Linked DNA regions of Homo sapiens: all the other regions are linked to region 6. The links are contacts of gene promoters, found by promoter capture Hi-C in human tissues and cell types (Jung and others, 2019). All regions are on one chromosome and are shown on one strand. Each heading gives the region's core, a stretch centred on a gene start or on the middle of the fragment in contact. The rest is flanking DNA. Distances are from core to core; before and after follow the strand shown. Region 1 overlaps RNF157 (ring finger protein 157). Region 2 overlaps QRICH2 (glutamine rich 2). Region 3 holds the start of LOC124904120 (small nucleolar RNA U13). Region 4 overlaps RNF157 (ring finger protein 157). Region 5 holds the start of RNF157 (ring finger protein 157). Region 6 holds the start of MRPL38 (mitochondrial ribosomal protein L38).

Region 1 (3,503 bases), core at 631-3,130, 270 kb after region 6:
CACACTGAACATACTATTTTGCAGTTTCTTTTTCACCTAAAAAGATGTGGTAAACATTTTTAAAGTCCATAATTTTGATAACATTGCAGATAATAGCATACTTTAATCAATTCCATATTATTCAATATTTTATGTTGGTTTTACTTTTTTTCGCAGCTATAAATGTTGTGGTGAATATCCTTGTCCCTATATTTCTGCATGCTTGTTTGATTATTTCCTAAGGACAAATTCCTAGAAGTGGAATTACAGGATCAAAGAGTAAGCATATTTTTAAGACTTTAAAAATTATTTTGCCAAACAGTTTTCCACAAAGCTGACTCCAACTTTGCCCTCCTGCAAGCAGTGCATCAGGAGGCCTTGACATGGTAAAACTGAAATTCTAGTTCAGATCCCATCTGTGGCCTGTTTCTCCTCCCCCAACTTTCCTAGGCTGTCATACTAAAGGAATTTAAAACAATTTTTAAATAAGCTTAAGCAAAAAGTAATTAGGCAGGAAAATCCGACACAAACGCTAGTCTATTCTAAAGCCAAAATAAATGACTTTGGGATTAAAATTTTTTTCTGGAGTAGCAAAGTTAATCATTTTCATTTGTACAGGTACTTGGGCGTTATCCATAACTCCTACCTGCATTTCAAAAAAAAGATGCGTCTTTTCCCTTATTCTTTACTCTTTCTCCTCCATAGCCACTCCCTGCCGCAAAAGAGAGAAAAATAAAAAGAAAGAAAAAAAAATCCTGGCACTCTTTATCCTCCATTTTGAATATATTTGATGATAACTGTGGCAATGAAACATAAGCTATTTGGCTCTTAAGGAAAGGTATCAATGAGTTCAATTGTTTATAAATCCACCCCTATACTTTAGGCTCTCCCTGTACACACACATACACGCACAAGACAACAACGGCAAATCTGTTCAGGAGAAGCTTGTTCGTGGGCTGCTACCCACCAAAGTTTGTGCCTTGCTGGCCTTGCATTCATGCAATCAGAGTCTACATGCAACACTCCATGCCAGGAGTAAGGAGAGATTGAAAACCAAGAAGATAAGGCCCTGCTCTTTCAGGAAGCTGCATTATAAGGCAGCTGACATAGTAATTGTAATATCAAAGAGATTAAATATATGGATATTTTTTTGCCACAAAAGGCAAAAATAAAGGAAGTGATCATTTCTGGCTGAGGTAATCTGAAGGCTTCATGGAGGAGTTGGTAGTTGATCTGGGATCCTAAAGGATAAATGAAATTTGCAAATTCAGAGATAACAGAGAAGATGGAGGGGACAGTAGGATCAGAGGCAAATTAAAAAAAATTTTTTTTCTGCTCTTAGAGTTGTCTCCCATTCTTCTGTAAATCGATTTTGCCTACTATTACTCTCGAAATTTCTTAGTGAGTTATCTTCCTTTCAAAAATTACCATTTATTGAGTGCTTACTATTGATGACAGTGGTGGGCTGTCCAGAGCAGCCGCTGCCATCACAACGGCTGCTGCAGGGGGGTCGCAGGGAGCAGACAGACAGCCCCTCCACAGCTTGCCGCCCTGGAGGCCACCCCATGGGGCTGGCCGGGTTACCCACCAGCAGAGGAGCAGCGTGGCAGAAGAGCAGCGCGGTAGGGCAAAGAGGAGCCCCGAGGCGGAGCTGGGCCTTGGCCAGTGTCCCGCTTGCTCATGGAGCGCCAGGGCCAGGCCTGGGCGCGGAGCTGGGGCCATGCTTCAGGGGCCCCGGGCAGGAAGTGGGAGCAGCTTCCGCTTCGGGCACCTGGCCATTGGCGCAGCCACTGTGCCCACCCTGCCGAGGGTGCCAGGTTCCTGTGCCTCGGGAGGAGGTTCTGCGCAGCCCGTCTGGGGCTGCGCCCCCAGGTCTGCCCCACATTGGGGTGACCACTGAGCCTGACACTCCTGGGCAGATGGCCTGGCCCAGGCCCAGGCCCAGGATCCACTCTGTCCCAGACTGCCCGTGAAGCACCGGGGGAACAGGCAGAGCTCATGGCGATGTCACCCTGCCCTGGACACTGGCCCCGGCCCTGGCCCCGGCCCAGTGAGGACCTGGAGCCCCTGCCCCAGGCTGCAAGGGGGTGCTGCAGGGGCTGCATGCTCCACAGAGCCGGTGGAAGCCAGGAACAGGCAGCAGCCCCGCCTTGGGCTGTGGATCGGGGGCCTCCATAAGCTCTTGGAGACACGGAAAAGCCCTCCCACCCCCCCGCCCCAGCAGGCTCGGAAGTGCCTGCTCCTGCCGCCTAGCTTCTGCTTGCTCTTGGTGCTGGCTCTGATCTTAGAGCAGTGTGGGGCCAAGCCAAGGTGCTGTTGCAGCCAGGCTAGGAGTGCACATGCTCGGGGTAGCGCTGACAAGCCAGCCCCCTGCTGCCTCGGCCCCTTCCAGACTTTGGGCACTGATGAGCATGAGGGAAGGGGAAGGGGGAGAGGCGAGGGGGTGCTGAGGGCAGCTTGGTGCTGGCCTTCAGGGAGGACGTGAAGGCTGGGGGCCTGGCTGCCAGTCCCGCCCACTGGAGTGGGAACTTGTGTTGCCTTTTCTAGGCCTGCCCATGGATGCCCAGGGACCAGTCTACCTGCACTTCCTCCCCTCTGAGGCCCATAAAAGGCCCAGGCTCAGCCAGAACAGAGCAGAGGTTGGGACCACCAGCTGCAGAGAGGAGCAACCTACTCCAGTGCCTCCTCTCTGCTGATAGCTGCAGAGATGTCCATAAGACCAGCTGCAGAGAGGAGCTACGCACTCCAGGGCCTCCTCTCTGCTGAGAGCTGCAGAGAAGACAGGATGACCTTCCTGCGGAAAAGAGCTTCCCACTCCAGGGTCTCTATGCTAGGACACTTGTCAGGACACCCTGGCTGCGGAAAGAGCTACCCACTGCGGGTATCCTCTGAGCTGTTCCAAGGCTCAATAAGGCTCCTCTTCGTCTTGCTCACCCTATGTTTGTCTGTGTATCTCATTCTTCCTTGTTGCAGGACAAGAATTTTGGACCCATGGAATGGTGGGACTAAAAGAGCTGTAACACAAACAGGACTGAAACATGCTCCTTGCTTGTCATGTTGCAGGCAAAGAGGAGAGAAGAGCTGTGGCCCGTCGGGGAGCCCAGACCTGGGAGCTGCCCAAGCCAGGGCTATGACTTCCTCTTTGTGGCCCTGTAGTTCCTGGCATCTCCAAGCTTCCGGGTGCCACCACATTCCCTGGTGCCAACCGGGAGAGCTGCTTGCAGTGCACCTGGTCCAGCCACAGCCTCGCAGACAGCTGGCACCTATACTGGCACCTGGGGCTGCCAGCCCCACAGCGGCAGCTGGCGTGTCTGACTGCACAGTGGCCGGACCCCACTCTCGCTCACACACCCCTTGCTGCTCCATGCCTGACTTGCAGTCTCCCTTGGAGGCGTGGGATATAGGCTGGTAGTGTGAGCTGAGTGCAGCCTGTCAGGCCAAGTGGGTGGAAGAAGCCCAATGTGCCTGAGCCGAACCTGTGCAAGGCACCACTGGCCACAGGTTTCCAGCCAGAAAAGTGACAC
Region 2 (3,429 bases), core at 591-3,090, 380 kb after region 6:
CCAGCCCAACAGGAAGTGGATTGTCTCCTGAGTGTGGTCCTGGGACAGCCAGACATGAGCTTGGACTGACAGGTGACTCTTAAACGCTCCCAGCTGCTCCTCAGGCAGGACTCCTGGCCCGGGGTCATGACATGGGGCACACCACAGTTCCAGCAACTTGGGAGCCTGGAATGTGGCTCAAAGCACAAAGCGGGCCAGGCACGTGGCTCACGCCTGTAATCCCAGCACTTTGGGAGGCCAAGGTGGGTGGATCACCTGAGGTCAGGAGTTTGAGACCAGCCTGGCTAACATGGTGAAACCCCATCTCTACTAAAAATACAAAAATTATCCAGGTGTGCTGGTGGGTGCCTGTAGTCTCAGCTACTTGGGAGGCTGAGGCAGGAGAATTGCTTGAACCTGGGAGACGGAGGTTGCAGTGAGCTGAAATCATGCCATTGGACTCCAGCCTGGGCAACAAGAGCGAAACTCTGTCTCAAAAAAAAAAGCGGGGTGCAGTGGCTCATGCCTATAATCCTAGCACTTTGGGAGGCCAAGGCAGGTGAATGACCTGAGGTCAGGAGTTCAAGACCGGCCTGACCAATGTGGTGAAACCCTGTATCTACTAAAAATACAAAAAAATTACCCAGGCATGGCGGTGTGCACCTGTAGTCCCAGCTACCCAGGAGTCTGAGATAGGAGAATCACTTGAACCCGGGAGGTGGAGAATGCAGTGAGCTGAGATGGTGCCACTGCACTCCAGCCTGGGCAACAGAGCAAAACTCTGTCTCCAAAAAAAAAAAAAAAAAAAAAAAAAAAATGCACAAAGAGGTTCCTGACATGAACCCGCTTGGCCCAGTGGCTTTTCCTAGGTGGTTCTTCTGTGAGCACTCAGAGGGCTGCTCCTGATTCAGACAATCCTTAGTGAGAAAATGACCAAGAATTGCATTGCAAGGCTTAAAGACAGACACTGTCAAGAAAATGAAAAGATGACCCACAGAATGGGAGAAAATATTTGCAAGTCATCTATCAAATAAGAGTGTAGCATCCAGAACATGTAAAGAGCTCTTTCAACTCAACAATAAAATGACAAATAACTCACCTGAAAAAATGGATGAAGGATTTGGATATGTATATTTTATCTCTAAAGAAAGTATACAGGCCAGGCGTGGTGGCTCACGCCTGTAATCCCAGCACTTTGGGAGACCGAGGCGGGTGGATCACGAGGTCAGGAGTTCAAGACCAGCCTGGCCAAGAAGGTGAAACCCCGTCTCTACTGAAAATACAAAAAATTAGCCGGGTGCAGTGGCAGGCGCCTGTAATCCCAGCTGCTTGGGAGGCTGAGGCAGGAGAATCACTTGAACTCAGAGGGCGGAGGTTGCAGTGAGCTGAGATTGCGCCACTGCACTCCAGCCTGACAACAGAGTGAGACTCCGTCTCAAAGAAAAAAAAAAAAGATGAAAAAGAAAGTATACAAATGGCCAAAAAGCACATGAAAAGATGCTCAGCATCTTTAGTCACTAGGGAAACGCACATCAAAACTATAATGAGATCCCACCTCACACCCACTAAAGTGGCTATAATTTTTTTTTTTTTTTGAGACAGGGTCTCGCTGTCACCCAGGCTGGCGTCCAGTGGCGCGATCATGGCTCACTGCAACCTCCGCCTCCCAGGTTCAAGTGATTCTCCTACCTCAGCCTCCTGAGAAGGTGGGATTACAGGTGTGCACCACCACACCCAGCTATTTTCTGTTGTTGTTGTTGTTGTTGTTTTTGAGATGGAGTCTCGCTTTTTCACCCAACCTGGAGTGCATGGTGCGATCTCAGCTCACTGCAACCTCTGCCTCCCAGATTCAAGTGATTCTCCTGCCCCAGCCTCCTGAGTAGCTGGGATTACAGGCACGTGCCACCTCGCCCGGCTAATTTTTGTATTTTTTTAGTAGAGACGGGGTTTCACCATGTTGGTCAGGCTGGTCTCGAACTCCTGACCTCGTGATCCACCCGTCTGGGCCTCCCAAAGTGCTGGGATTACAGGCGTGAGCCACCACACCTGGCCTATTTTCTGTATTTTTAGTAGAGATGGGGTTTCATCATGTTGGCCAGGTTGGTCTCCAACTCCTGACCTCAAGTGATCTACCTGCGTCGTCCTCCCAAAGTGCTGGGACTACAGGCGTGAGTCACCGCAGCCGGCCCCACACAAAAACTTATACATGAGGCCAGGCCAGTACTTTGGGAGACCGAGGCGGGTGGATCACCTGAGGTCAGGAGTTTGAGACCAGCCTGGCCAACATGGTGAAACCCCATTCTCTCCTAAAAATACAAAATTACCTGGGCATGGTGGCAGGCACCTGTAATCCCAGCTACTTGGGAGGCTGAGGCAAGAGAATCACTTGAACCCAGGAGTTGGAGATTGCAGTGAGCCAAGATCGTGCCATTTCCCTCCAGCCTGGATAACAAGAGCGAAACTCCATCTCCAAAAACAAAACAAAATAACAACAAAAAAACAACTTATTATGGCCAGGTGCGGTGGCTCACGCCTATAATCCCAGCACTTTGGGAGGCCAAGGCGGGCAGATCACAAGGTCAGGAGATTGAGACCATCCTGGCTAACACAGTGAAACCCCGTCTCTGCTAAAAATATTTTGAAAAATTAGCCGGGCGTGGTGGCAGGTGCCTGTAGTCCCAGCTACTCGGGAGGCTGAGGCAGGAGAATGGCAGGAACCCGGGAGGCAGAGCTTGCAGTGAGCCGAGATCGTGCCACTGCACTCCAGCCTAGGCGAGAGAGCAAGACTCCGTCTCAAAAAAAAAAAATGTATACATGAATGTGCATAGCAGCATTATTCATAATAGCCAAAGGATGGAAACAACCCAGATGTCTTTCAACTGATGACTAGATAAAGAAATTGTGGCATAGACGCAGAATGGAATGCTATGAAGCCATAAAAAAGAATGGAGTATTGACACATGCTACAACATGGATGAGCCTTGAAAACATCATGCTAAGTGAAAGAAGCCAGATACAAAAGTGTATGTTGCATGATTCCATTTATATGAAATGTCCAGAATAGACAAATCCATAGTGGCAGAAAGCAGGTTCGTGGTTGTCAGGGGCTGAGGGACAGAAGGGAACAGGGAGAGACTGCTAAGAGTCACAGGGTTCTTTCTGGGGTGATTAAATGTTTTGGAATTAGATTGTGGTGATAGTTGCACAACTTTGTACTAAAAACTACCTTATTCAATTTAAAAGGGTGAATTCATTGATATATGATTATATCATAAAAAAGATAGGGAAAGATCGTGATCAGCCTGGCCAAAATGGTGAAACCCCGTCTCTACTAAAAATACAAAAATTAGCTGGGCGTGGTGGCATATGCCTGTAGTCCTGGCTACTCAGGAGGCTGAGGCAGGAGAATTGCTTGAACCTGGGAGGCGGAGGTTGCAGTGAGCCAAGATG
Region 3 (3,242 bases), core at 526-3,025, 420 kb after region 6:
GCAAAGAAGGTTTTTTGTTTTTTTTTTTGAGATGAATCTACTGCTGAAGATGCTGTGAACTCTGCTGAAATGAAAACAAGGATTTAGAAGTATTACAAAAATTATTTGATAACACAGTGGCAGGGTTTGAGAACAGTGACTACAATTTTGAAAGTAGTTCTTTCGGCTGGGCGCAGTGGCTCACGCCTGTAATCCCAGCACTTTTGGAGGCCGAGGCGGGCAGATCACCTGAGGTCAGGAGTTCGAGACCAGCGTGGCTGACATGGTAAAACCCTGTCTCTACTAATAATACAAAAATTAGGCGGGTGTGGTGGCACACATCTGTAATCCCAGCTACTCGGGAAGCTGAGGCAGAATTGCTTGGACCCAGGAGGCAGAAGTTGCAGGGAGCCGAGATGGTGCCACTGCACTCCAGCCTGGGCAACAGAGTGAGACTGTCTCAAAAAAAAAAAAAAAGAAAGTAGTTCTTTCTTCTAGGTAAAATGCTATCAAACAGATCATTTTGTAGTTCATAAGTGTGATCATTGGGTGTTCACGCTTACATGTGAGATGTGCCATCCTTGAACCTTGTTAGAACATCAGTACATCACCTGGCTGACATTTTAAAAAATGCTGTCAGCCGGGCGCAGTGGCTCACGCCTGTAATCCCAGCACTTTGGGAGGCTAAGGCGGGTGGATCATCTGAGGTCAGGAGTTCCAGACCAGCCTGACCAACATGGTGAAACCCTGTCTCTACTAAATACAAAAAAAATTAGCCAGGTGTGGTGATGCATACCTATAATCCCAGCTACTTAGGGAGGCCGAGGCAGGAGAATCACTTAAATCCAGGAGGTGGAAGTTGCAGTGAGCCAAGACTGCACCACTGCACTCCAGCCTGGGCAACAAGAGCGAAAACTCCATCTCAAAAAAAAAAAAGCTATAAAACAGCATTACATGCTACAGAAAGATCTTTTGTGAAAGGAAGAGTCAATCAACGAGGCAAACTTCGTTGTTTTAAGAAATTGCCACAGCTGAGCACAATCACTCTTGCCTGTAATCCCAGCTACTCAGGAGGCTGAGGTATAAAAATTGCCTGAGGCTGGCAGGGTGCAGTGGCTCACTCCTGTAATCCCAGCACTTTGGGAGGCCAAGGCGGGCGGATCATGAGGTCAGGAGATCGAGACCATCCTGGCTAACATGGTGAAACCCCATCTCTACTAAAAATACAAAAAAAAAAAAATTAGCCAGGTGTGGTGGCAGGCACCTGTAGTCCCAGCTACTTGGGAGGCTGCGGCAGGAGAATGGTGTGAACCTGGGGGGTGGAGCTTGCAGTGAACTGGGTGAACCACTGCACTCCAGCCTGGACGACAGAGAGAGACTCGTCTCAAAACAAAAAAAAAAAAAAGAAAAGAAAAATTGCCTGAGGCCAGGAATTCAAGACCAACCTGGGTCCGGGCACAGTGGTTTACGCCTGTAATCCCAGCACTTTGGGAAGCCGAGGCGGGCGGATCATGAGGTCAGGAGATGGAGACCATCCTGGCTAACTCGGTGAAATGCCGTCTCTACTAAAAATACAAAAAATTACCCGGGCGTGGTAGCGGGTGCCTGTAGTCCCAGCTATTCGGGAGGCTGAGGCAGGAGAATGGCGTGAACCCGGGAGGCGGAGCTTGCAGTGAGCTGAGATCGCGCCACTGCACTCCAGCCTGGGCGACAGAGCGAGGAGACTCAGTCTCAAAAAAAAAAAAAAAAAAAAAAAAAAGACCAACCTGGGAAACAGACCCCATCTCTTAAAAAAAAGAAAGAAAAGAAATTTCCACAGCCCATCCCAACTTTCAACAACCACCACCCTGATCAGTCAGCAGCCATCAACATCGAGGCAAGACCCTCCACCAACAAGATGGAGGCTCAGATGACTGCTAATTTTTTTTTTTTTTTTTTGAGACAGAGTCTCGCTCTGTCACCCAGGCTGGAGTGCAGTGGCGCGATTTCAGCTCACTGTAAGCTCCACCTCCATTCTCCTGCCTCCATGCCATTCTCCTGCCTCAGCCACCCGGTAGCTGGGACTACAGGCGCCCGCCACTACGCCCGGCTAATTTTTTGCATTTTTTTAGTAGAGACGCGATTTCACAGTGTTAGTCAGGACGGTCTCGATCTCCTGACCTCGTGATCTGCCCGCCTCAGCCTCCCAAAGTGCTGGGATTACAGGCCTGAGCCATTGCGCCTGGCCAACTGCTAGTATTTTTTAGCAGTAAAGTATTTTTAAATTAAGGTACGTACATTGGTTTTTAGACACAATGATATTGAGCATTTAACAGACTACAGTATAAACATAACTTTTACATGTGCTGGGACATCAAAAAATTCATGAGACTCACTTTATTATAATATTCACCTACTGCAATGGTGCAGAACTGAACCTGCAATATTTAAGGTATTCCTGTGACGACAATGAATTATAACCCACTGAATGAAATAGGCCTATGAATCCATACTGATATAAATGAAGAAATGAATAGGGAAGAAGAGAAAGCTTTCTTGCATTAGAAGGTCAACTAATAAATGTAGAAGGAATGATAGAGTTAGAAAAATGAACACTGACAACAATCACAGTCAATAATTGATTCAGGCAAGAATCATCAGTAGATGTTCATTTTGATGAGAAGCAGAATATTTACAGTTAAAACATAGTCTTAACATGAGGTAGTATTAATTACAAAGAGGAAAAAAAAAAGAGTAACTTTACAGTGGAGAAACCTGCCAGAGAAACCTTAACCAACTTATCAGAATGCACATCACCAGTAATGGGACACATCATGTGTTTCCTGTGATTTTCTGCCAAAAATGCATAACCTGAATCTAATCCTGAGGACACAAACAAGCCCCAATTAAGGGAGAGTCTACAAAATCACTTGATCGCACTGTTCAAAAGTATCAAGGTCATAAGAAACAAAGAATAAAGCAGCCACTCCAGATTAAATGAGACTAAAAAGAAATGACAACTAAATGCAATGTGTGACCCTGGGTTAGGTCTTGAACAAGAAAACAAGTTTATTCTTTTGCTCTAAAGGACACTGCTGGGACCACTGGTGAAACCTGAGTAAGGTCTGTAGATTACAGTGTTACAGCAATGTTAGCTTCCTGAGTCTGATAATGATACTCTGGTTATATAAGAGTCTTTTGTCTTTACAAATATACACGAAGGTATTTAGGAATGAAGGGACATTACGTCTGCAACTCACCCTCAAATGGTGGAAAAAAAAAAA
Region 4 (3,306 bases), core at 382-2,881, 310 kb after region 6:
CTGCAGAACTGAGTGGTTGCTGGTGGAGAGAATCCCCACACATTTTGCTGACCAGAGGTCACAGAAGTTTTCTGTGCTGCTTGTGTTGTGAGTGTATAGGAGAAACTGAGTTTTTTTCCTATATCCGCAGACGCACACATTTCTTTGCCTAGATTTTCATAAGCCAGCTTATACCTACACACAGAAGTCTCAGTACCCACCCACCACTACTGCTATACCTCCATAACCTTCTATGATGAAGGTTCTTCACACTTTAACTTGCTGCAAACATTATTGTTTCACAGGAAAATACGAATTTAGATAATACAGTTATCCCTGGCTTTCTCTACCAATTACTACACAGACTATGGTGTAAAATAAGGGGACAATTTAATGCTATGAAAGAAGGCTACACACATACCCTCTCCACCTCAAATTCATTAACAGTGCTAATGGCCAGAACTGCTGGGACATCAGTCATGGCAGGGCCCCTTTGCCCCTTCTTAATCAGCCAGGAGGCAGAAATATTTTCAGTGCAATATAATAACCAAATGAAATCAGCAGTCAGGGGCCAAAATTCCCATCAGCCTCATCCGGACAAACCAAGGAACTGTGACAGGATATGATGGAACTGAGAAGTCACCAAAGGAGGCTTAGGTTATGCTGAAAATTACATCTGGGAATACATTTTAAGTTTGATGATTAAACGAATGCCGCTTACCTCTAATTTCTATTATCTAATTCTCCCATGAAGGTAAGCTGTCCAAAGTAAAGGACACATCCCATAATATACCTTTATCAACACTCTCATATACCCCATTTCTGAAATTAACACAAGGAACTTATTAAGTGGCAAAAGGCTTGCTTGTGTATAATACATTGAGGATATACACAAACTCCCTAAATCAGTTGCAATTTTTGTTGAAGATTTGTAGCAGGCAGGGTGTGATGGATCTTGCCTGTAATCCTAAAACTCTGGATGGCTGAGGCAGGAGAATTGCTTTAGGCCAGGAGTTGGAGACCAGCTTGGGCAACTTAGCAAGCTTAGCAAGACCTTGTCTCTACTAAAAACAAAACAAAAAATAAATAAAAATACAAAAATTAGTTGGGCATGGTAGCATGCGTCTGGAGTTCTAGCTACTCAGAAGGCTGACGCAGAAGGGTCGCTTGAGTTCAGGAGTTCAAGGTTGCAGCGAGCTATGATTGCCACTGCACTCCAGCCTGGGTGACAGAGTGAGACCCTCTCTAAGAAAAAAAAAAGAAAGAAAGAAAAAAGAAAAGAAAAGAAAAAAGGAAAAAAAGATTTATAGCAAACTAAAAAAAAAAAAAAAATGAGATTCAGTACTTTGAGCCTGTGGAGAAGCCATAGGAAGGAAGACAGAGAAGAAAATTCTAGCAAAAACTGAACCAAACATTCATTTTTAAAACTTTCTACACAAGGAGCTTTAGTCTAGAAACATCTATTAAATAAAACAATGTGGATAAAATCACTCACCACAAAGTGAGGCAACTATTGAATTAAACAAGCAGGAAAACATTCTTTGAGAGTAATAATGCAACCCAGATCAAAGCAATCACTGAGGAACTACTGAAAGTCACCCATTAAAACTTAAAAAGACAAAGGGCAGCCATCTGATACAGTGATACAACAGCAGAATTCATCATTTAGGAAAGCTTAATTATCAATTATTTATGTCTGGCACTTGCTAGCCCTATTTTCCAAGTGCATAATTTATGGAGAGGGGAGGTACCTAGTTGCCTTAAGTAGAAGCAGCAATCTCAAATAATTTAAGTCATTTACTGATGAACTTCAGCAAGATATATTTTCTATGCATCAGGAATTATACATTTATCATATATTAGGTAAAATTGGAAAAGTTAAAGATGTTACACAGATGGATGGCTTGCCCAAATCATGAAAAAAGAAAGGGAGAGAAGAGAGTTTGATGTCTGGAATTGTCTAGGTTGACCTCAGTGTGGGACCACTGAGTTTCCAGTACCTGTGAGATCTCAGGGGAGGGATCTGGGGCAGTAAAAATCCATGGATGATTGGCTTAGAGGTGGCCATGATTGAACCTAGCGAGAGAGGACCCCTAATGATTTGGGGGCTAAAGAGTTAAAGCAGGCAACAGGGTTCGATTAGAAATGCCCTTTTATGCCATAATATTAAAAGAAAAGAAATGACCACAAAAGATGTGTAGAGCTAATTGTAGTTTTGCCTTGCATTAAAATCAAGAATAGTCTGGGTGTGGTGGCTCACACCTGTAATCCTAGCACTTTGGGAGGCCAAGGTGAGAGGATCACTTGAGCCCAGGAGCTCAAGACCAGCCTAGGCAACATGGTGAGGCTCTGTCTCTGTATATTTAAAAATAATAATAATAATAATACTATGGTATATTCAGTCAGTAGAGTATTATGAAGCCTTTCAAAGTGGTGTTGTAAATCTATATCTACTGACATTAAAAATGTTCACAATATATTATAATTAGACCCTTGTCTCGACAAAAAATTAAAAAATTAGCTGGGTATGATGGCCCAAGCCTGTGGTCCCAGCTACTCAATAGGCTGAGGTGGGAGGATCACTTGAGCCCAGGAGGTCAGGCCTGCAGTGAGCCATGACTGCGCCATTACATTCCAGTCTGGGTAAAAGAGCAAGACCCTGTGTCAAAAAAAAACAAAAACAAAAACAAAAAACAAACAAACAAACAAAAAACCCCATAAAAGCTATATAAGCTGTATACTTATAACTGGGAATGATTTTCTCAAAATTACAAAGTTGGCAAAATTGTTCTTACTTTTACTTAAAATTAGCTTGAACACCTGTTCAATCACTCAATAATTCTTTAGCAATATTAATTTCTAAACTTTTGGTTATTAAGGGGAAGACGCATAAAATGTGCAAGATTGTATGAATTAAAAAGAGCTCCCCAAACCTTCATCTATTTTTTGTTTGTTTTTGTTTTTCTGTAGAGATGGAGTTTCACCATGTTGGCCAGGCTGGTCTCAAACTCCTGGGTCAAGAGACCTGCCCGCCTCAGCCTCCCAAAGTGTTGGGATTACAGGTGTGAGCCACCGAGCCCAGCCATCCTCATCTGTTAAAAGGAAAAATAAATTTACTTATTGGTATTTCATTTTACAACCAAAAATTTGCTTTTTCCTTTCTTTGAAATGAACCCCTCTAGCAGCTTGCTTTCATTTAGACAAATGAGAAAAGCAAATCAGCCTTTTTCAGACTGAATAAAGCTTTCTACTTGCTCAGTCTTTCTAGAGGGACAAATTGGTGCACAGCTATGTATAGCTACTAGATCATCAGATACCAACACCAAA
Region 5 (3,004 bases), core at 505-3,004, 340 kb after region 6:
TCATGCCGCCCTAAGAATATTTTTGTCTATTAAAAAACAAAATCTATGCCTTGGTTAGCGTTGATTTTATGTAGTCATAATCAGTCAGAGCTTTATTAAAATACTAACGACCCACAGCTTTATCTTAGACCTTTCTAAAACAATTCTTCACCATATTCATCTTTGCAAGGATTCATTCTTTGGTACAAAAGCAGTGAGAAACACAGCTCTGGCAGACACTCTGCAGGGATGCGGGCAGGTTCATCGTCTGGCCCCTGCTTTCACCTGGCAGACACTGGACACACTGCTGAGAAACCAGCTCATCTCAGTATGTCTCTATTCTACCAAAAAGAGACGAGGCTCTGCTCCAATTCTGACACCTCATTCCGAAATCACCAAAATCTCCATCGGGTCCTAAGCAGACAGAATGTCGCAGCCATTCATCCTCAGAAGTCTTGAGAATAAAATTAAAAGTAATTAATTAAAATAAAACTACTTGCAATTAAAAGTAAACACCGGCTAGGTCATGCAATTCATACTGGCCGGTGCTCACATAACTGAACTACCTTGTGATTCTCTGCTTTGCTGTCAAAATCCTCCTCCACCTCCAATGCTGATACCACAATCCAGAGGCTAGAGACATTTAAGTGAAGGGATGATTCTAATAACAAACATACTTCTATACGTTTCCAATACCTCTGCCCTGTCCCAGAGCTGGTCCCACTCCAAAACCCAGGCTTGCCACTACGCTAGCAAAGGGGCAATCCGAGTAACTCTGATACTCAGATTCCCAAACATTTCTGTTACTTTCCACCACCACCACCCCCCCCACCCCCCGGCTTCTGACAGCCTCTGCAAAAGCACCAGCACTGCAAATGCCTGTTTGGCTTCCATCCTTCAGCAGGCAATGGAAGCTTTTCCAGGAGAAACCTAATTCTAACCTTTCCAGAGGCCAGGAGACGGCAGCGCAGGGATAGCACCTGGCGCAAGTGCCTGTTTGGATGCCGAGGTCGCCTCCCTCGCGGCCCTCGGACCCCGCGAGGCAGGTAGGCTTTGGGCCGGGCCGGCCGGGTCCGTGCGGGGCGCCGACCTCGCCTACGACGCCGCAGCCCCGCTCCCCAGGAGCCTCGGTCCCTGCGGGCACGCGTCCCCGTCACGGGGCCGATTACAATGGAGGCCGCTCCCGTCCTCCCGTGGAGGGGCTCGGTGCCCTCGGTGACCCTGCTAGACCCGGCAGGACGCCCCTTGGGCTAATTCGCCCGGGGCGGGGGAGACCTCGGCCTTCTCGAAGACCTCCCGCGCTCGAAGACCGTTTCGGAGCGTCCGCAACCACTGAGTCCCCGAAGACCCGCGGGGCCCCCTCAGGCCGTCCCGACCCAGACCCCTGCCCCTGCCCCTCTCCCTCCTCGCGGCTGCGGCGCCCGCCCGCCCTCACCGGACTTGGGCGGGTAGCGGTACACGGAATTAGACGGGATGTCCACCTCCTCCACGCCCGCGTGCTGCCGGCTCGTCAGGGCCCCCATGGCCGCTGCGGCTGCAGCCCCGGCCCGGCCCCGGTGCCCGCGCCGCCCTCCGCGCTTCACCGCGGCCGCCCGCCCCGCGCCCGGTGCGGGGGCCGACTGCCCGCCGCGGCCGGCTCCGCTGCGGCGCTGCGGCTCTGGCGGCGGGGAGCCCCCGGCGCGCCGCGCACCATCCTCCGCCGGGCACCGCGGCGGCGCCTCTGCCAAGGGGGCTGCGGGTCTGGGCCGGGGGCGCCGCCGCCGCCTCAGGCCGCGTGATGTCAGCGGCCGCTCCGCGCGGGGACCGCGGCGGCCCCAGCCAATGGCGAGGCGGGGCGGGAGCGCCCGCGCCGGAGCAGCCAATGAGCGCGGGACTGCAGCAGGAGCCGGCGGCGCGTGCCTCGCGCGGGGAGCCGCGGCTGGACTCGGCGCGCGTGGACGCGGCCCAGGGCCTCGCGGCGGGGGCGTGGGCGTGGGCGGGGACTCGCGACGGGGACGGGGGCGCGGCCGGGTGCCCGCGGCGGGGCGGGGCGGGACCGGCCGGAGCTGGGACCCCAGGAGACGAGCGCTGCACCCGGCCGGGACGCGTCGCCCCTCCGCGCCTGTTTATCCCGGCTCGGATTACCGCGCAGGGAGCCGCCCCCTCCCGCGGTCCGCGAGGACTGGCCGGGAGCTCGCTCGCCATTGTCCTGGGCGTCCCAAAGCGGGCGGTCCCCGCTCCGCTGCTCCCGCGCCTGGAGGAAGCCTTCCCAACCCCGCCCCTCAGCGTCGGCCGGCGGAGGTCTTCGGAAATCTCATGCAGGGGGGTAGGGAGAGGGGTCCCACGGTGCATTCGCATGTCTCCTGCCCCGTGTTAATGCTGGTGACCGGCTAGGAAGATGCCGCCTCCCTCTCACGTGCGTCTATTCAAAGCGCTCCCAACTCTATACATGCTGTTTAAGGCTCCTTGTAGCCCTAAAGTTAGGAGAACATCGACTGAGGATAAGATCAAGACATCCAGCCTCTGTCTGTATCGTGGAAACGGGACCCCGGAAACTTTGGAAAGGCCTGAGTGCCAAGAGAGTCAACGCAGGCGAAAGCGAACCGGGCCAGGCAGAACCGGGAGCTCCTGTTGATAAAAACACACACAACAGTGGGAAGCTTGGGCCGGCGGAAGACGTCATTCCATTGCTTAATTACAGACATTTGTGTTTTAAACCTTCTATTTTCTTTGTGGGTCTGGTGTTTTTTTTCCTGAGAGAGTGGACTGATCAGCAAACATTTCAACTGCTAGAACATGACTTTCACAACTTTTCAACAGTGTTCGAAGTACAGTTTGGGGTGTCTGGTTCCCTTGATTAGGTTTGTAAAGCTATTTTACGGAGTCTAGGTCTTTCCTGGTTATATTTTGTTTTTGTTTTTCTGTGTTTTGAGACGGAGTCTCCCTCTGTCGCCCAGGCTGGAGTGCAGTGGCGTGATCTCAGCTCACTGCAACCTCCGCCTCCTGGGTTCAAGGGATTCTCCTGCCTCAGCCTCCCGAGTAGCTG
Region 6 (3,135 bases), core at 624-3,123:
TCCTTCCAATTATAGTTGAGATCACCTCCAAGCCTGTTCACAGGTGGCTATGAACACCCAGCTGTCCTAGGTAGAGTGAATGACTGATGCTAGAAGGACTTATAGAAGTGCTTCTCGGCCAGGTGCTATGGCTCACGCCTGTAATCCCAACACTTTGGGAGGCTGAGGCAGGGGGATCACTTGAGGTCAGGAGTTTCAGACCAGCTTGGGCAATATGGTGAAACCCCATCTCTACTAAAAATACAAAAATTAGCTGGGCGTGGTGGCGCATGCCTGTAGTGTCAGCTACTTTGGAGGCAGAAGCAGGAAAATCGCTTGAACCCAGGAGGCAGAGGTTGCAGTGAGTCATCGCACCACTGCACTCCAGCCTGGGCAACAGAGCGAGCCTCTGCCTTAAAACAAAACAAAACAAAATAATAATAACGAAAACATACTGAGCCCTCATCAGAGATGGCATTAGGCAAAAATGCCAATGAATTGCCTCTTTTAATCCTCACAGCAATTTTGTAGCAAAGACACAATTATTTTATTTTACAGTTGAAACAAGCTCAAGGACATTATCCGAGAGGCTGAGCTAGGATTTAAATCGGGCTATTTAGATTCCACGCTTGTGCCTTTAACCACCACAAAACTGCCTCTATAAATGCTAAAGAAAAGAAAAGAAAAGAAAAGCATATACTCCATAAATTGTAAGTTCCTTAAAGGTTGGGGTCTTTTTTTTTTTTTCTTTTTGAGACGGAGTTTCGCTCTTGTTGCCCAGGCTGGTGTGCAATGGCGCGATCTCGGCTCACCGCAACCTCTGCCTCCTGGGTTCAAGCGATTCTCCTGCCTCAGAGGCCTCCCGAGTAGCTGGGATTACAGGCATGCGACACCACGCCCAGTTAATTTTGTATTTTTAGCAGACACGGGGTTTCTCCATGTTGGTCAGGCTGGTCTCGAACTCCCGACCTCAGGTGATCCGCCCGCCTAGGCCTCCCAAAGTGCTGGGATTACAGGCGTGAGCCACCGCGCCCGGCCAGGTTGGGTTCTTTTTTGAGTCACCCTGCCCAGGCCTTTAATTTCATTCAGCAAAGTATTGCACATGTACATCCTTGCACTGTTCGGGTGCAAGGATCCAATGGAGGGCAAGACAAGCAGGATCCCTGTCAACAGGGCGCTTACAATCTGGGGAGAGGCAGCGCACAGTCAGAATGCAGTGTGGCCAGAGTTACCTACAGAGTATTTGAGGCGCACAGAACGGCATCCCAATCCGGAAAGTCAGGTGGTCAAGATTTTAGGAGCAAATATTTTAGGAGCTGGAACTCTAATAGTAGGGGGAGCGAATTTTCCAAGAATGAGGTGCAGAAGGTGTGAAAAATCCTGGGGTGATTAAGCTGCCGATAGCGCACACAGGTCTGCAGGCAGGCCCTCCCAGCGTCCCCAGCATCCACAAGGGCGCCGGCAAGGCTCGCCCAGCGCCCGGGGAAAACGCCGGCGGGTCCCGAGTTCCCCGGGCGGTGGCTGCAGCCCCTGCTCCAGTCGCCCCGCACCTGTCTTCTCCCCGAAATACTCTCGGTAGGTCCGCCACCAGTGCGGGGCCTGCGCCTCCTGCTCTGCTCGGCGCCGGTAGCGGTCGAAGCTCCGGTACTTCTCCAGCCGCTCCAGGTTGCTCAAGTCGATGTCACTGTTGGGCATCGGCCCCAGCGGGGGTGTCCGGCGGCCCAGGACGGCTGCGGGCAGAGAGAAGACGTAAGGCCGGCGCCCCACAGCTCGGGCGACAGCCCCCCCCCCCCCCCCCGCAGAGCTGCCCACCCCTCACCCGAGGTGCTGAAGCCCCGCCATCTCCGACACTCGCACAGCGCGGCTCGCCACCAGGGCGCCGCCATCTTCCCTCCGGCCTGCGACACTGCGGCCGCCACTAGGACCCGGGCACAGGTGGCCAGCGCGGTGCCTGAGCGCACCACAGCAGGCCCCGCCCCTAGGCCCGCCCCCGGGCCCGCGCTGCGGAGCAGGCCTCAGACGCCTGTCCCGGAGGCCCCTGCACCGTCTGCCTCGGGCGCAGGTGGAAGGTGGCCGCGGTCTGTAGACGCCCGGCTCCGGAAGTGCCCGTTGGACGGCGGGGCGGAGCCGAGAGCAGTCATATGCTCGCCCATGGCTGGCCACCAGGGGGCGGCACAGACCGGGGTCGGCCGCCGGGGCCCTCCTCCAACCCCTGGACGCTGCGTCCTGATTTCCCCAGGGACGCAGGCCTGGTTGGGAGAAGGGGTGCGAGCTCCGATTCCGGACTCTGCTTGGGTTTAAAACCCAGATTGAGGGCTGGGCGCGGTGGCTCACGCCGGGAATCCCAGCACTTTGGGAGGCCAAGGCGGGTGGATCACGAAGTCAGGAGATCGAGACCATCCTGGCCAACACGGTGAAAACCCGTCTCTACTCAAAATACAAAAATTAGCCGGGCGTGGCATACGCCTGTAATCCCAGCTACTCGGGAGGCTGAGGGAGGAGACTCGCTTGAACCTGGGAGGCAGAGGCGGAGGCTGCAGTGAGCCGAGATCGCGCCACTGCACTCCAGCATGGGCGACAAAAGTGAAAACTCTATTTCAATAATAATAATAATAATAAAATAATAGTAATAAAAACCCAGATTGTGGCTGGGCGCGGTGGCTCATACCTGTAATCCCAGCACTTTGGGAGGCCGAGGTGGGCGGATCATCTGAGGTAATTAGTTTGAGACCAGCCCTACGAACATGGCAAAACCCTAAAGATACAAAAATTTTTGTATCTCTACTAATGATACAAAAATTAGCCGGGCGTGGTGGCAGGCGCCTGTAATCCCAGCTACTCAGGAGGCTATGGCACAAGAATTAACTTGAACCCGGGAGGCAGAAGCTGCAGTGAGACGAGATTGCGCCACCACCTCGGTGCCAGAGTGAGACACCGTCTCAAAATGCCCCTCCCCCCCCCCAAAAAAAAACCAGATCGTGACCTTACTGTCTTCCTTGTGGTTTCCTCATTTGGGAAAAAGCAGGTTAACACTAGTGCTTACCTGACAGCTGTCAGGATGAAAAGATTACCCTCTGGAAAGCGCTCGCAGTGGTTTGTGTGTTAGCTCAACTATCTCCAACTTCTCATTATCCACACAAAGGCAGAAGTGACCTG

The links. Contacts are between HindIII fragments. The study calls those that stand out against the background at their distance.
Region 1: a contact is called between a fragment that was not itself captured here and the fragment with the promoter of MRPL38 in region 6, in 6 of the 25 tissues and cell types used here (H1 embryonic stem cells, lymphoblastoid cells, mesendoderm cells and 3 more).
Region 2: a contact is called between a fragment that was not itself captured here and the fragment with the promoter of MRPL38 in region 6, in 2 of the 25 tissues and cell types used here (lymphoblastoid cells and spleen).
Region 3: a contact is called between a fragment that was not itself captured here and the fragment with the promoter of MRPL38 in region 6, in 1 of the 25 tissues and cell types used here (dorsolateral prefrontal cortex).
Region 4: a fragment that was not itself captured here is called in contact with the fragment with the promoter of MRPL38 in region 6 in 2 of the 25 tissues and cell types used here (dorsolateral prefrontal cortex and spleen).
Region 5: a contact is called between the fragment with the promoter of RNF157 here and the fragment with the promoter of MRPL38 in region 6, in 1 of the 25 tissues and cell types used here (adrenal gland).

What each region holds. Positions count from the first base shown.
Region 1 is chr17:76,175,123-76,178,625 of GRCh38, forward strand. The region is part of intron 2 of RNF157 (ring finger protein 157); the gene reads right to left. Among named protein-coding and RNA genes, the nearest start is that of FOXJ1, 36 kb to the left of the region's middle. The HindIII fragment of the contact is 4,379 bases long and covers 1-3,503 here.
Region 2 is chr17:76,283,401-76,286,829 of GRCh38, forward strand. All of the region lies in intron 7 of QRICH2 (glutamine rich 2), which reads right to left. Among named protein-coding and RNA genes, the nearest start is that of UBALD2, 20 kb to the left of the region's middle. The HindIII fragment of the contact is 8,859 bases long and covers 1-3,429 here.
Region 3 is chr17:76,323,700-76,326,941 of GRCh38, forward strand. All of the region lies in intron 7 of PRPSAP1 (phosphoribosyl pyrophosphate synthetase associated protein 1), which reads right to left. It overlaps LOC124904120 (small nucleolar RNA U13), which reads left to right and starts at 497; the gene lies at 497-600. The HindIII fragment of the contact is 3,003 bases long and covers 275-3,242 here.
Region 4 is chr17:76,214,246-76,217,551 of GRCh38, forward strand. The region is part of intron 1 of RNF157 (ring finger protein 157); the gene reads right to left. Among named protein-coding and RNA genes, the nearest start is that of RNF157, 25 kb to the right of the region's middle. The HindIII fragment of the contact is 4,066 bases long and covers 1-3,306 here.
Region 5 is chr17:76,238,739-76,241,742 of GRCh38, forward strand. It overlaps RNF157 (ring finger protein 157), which reads right to left and starts at 1,755. Exons shown (of 19, transcript NM_052916.3): 1 at 1,415-1,755. The coding sequence starts at 1,502. It overlaps LOC105371896 (a long non-coding RNA gene), which reads right to left. Exons shown (of 6, transcript XR_007065913.1): 6 at 2,124-3,004. RefSeq lists an enhancer at 723-1,395 and silencers at 1,700-1,839, 1,860-1,929. The HindIII fragment of the contact is 11,074 bases long and covers 1-3,004 here.
Region 6 is chr17:75,903,011-75,906,145 of GRCh38, forward strand. MRPL38 (mitochondrial ribosomal protein L38) reads right to left here and starts at 1,874. Exons shown (of 9, transcript NM_032478.4): 1 at 1,799-1,874; 2 at 1,530-1,709. The coding sequence starts at 1,865. RefSeq lists silencers at 1,670-1,719, 1,740-1,789, 1,800-2,279. The HindIII fragment of the contact is 5,940 bases long and covers 1,545-3,135 here.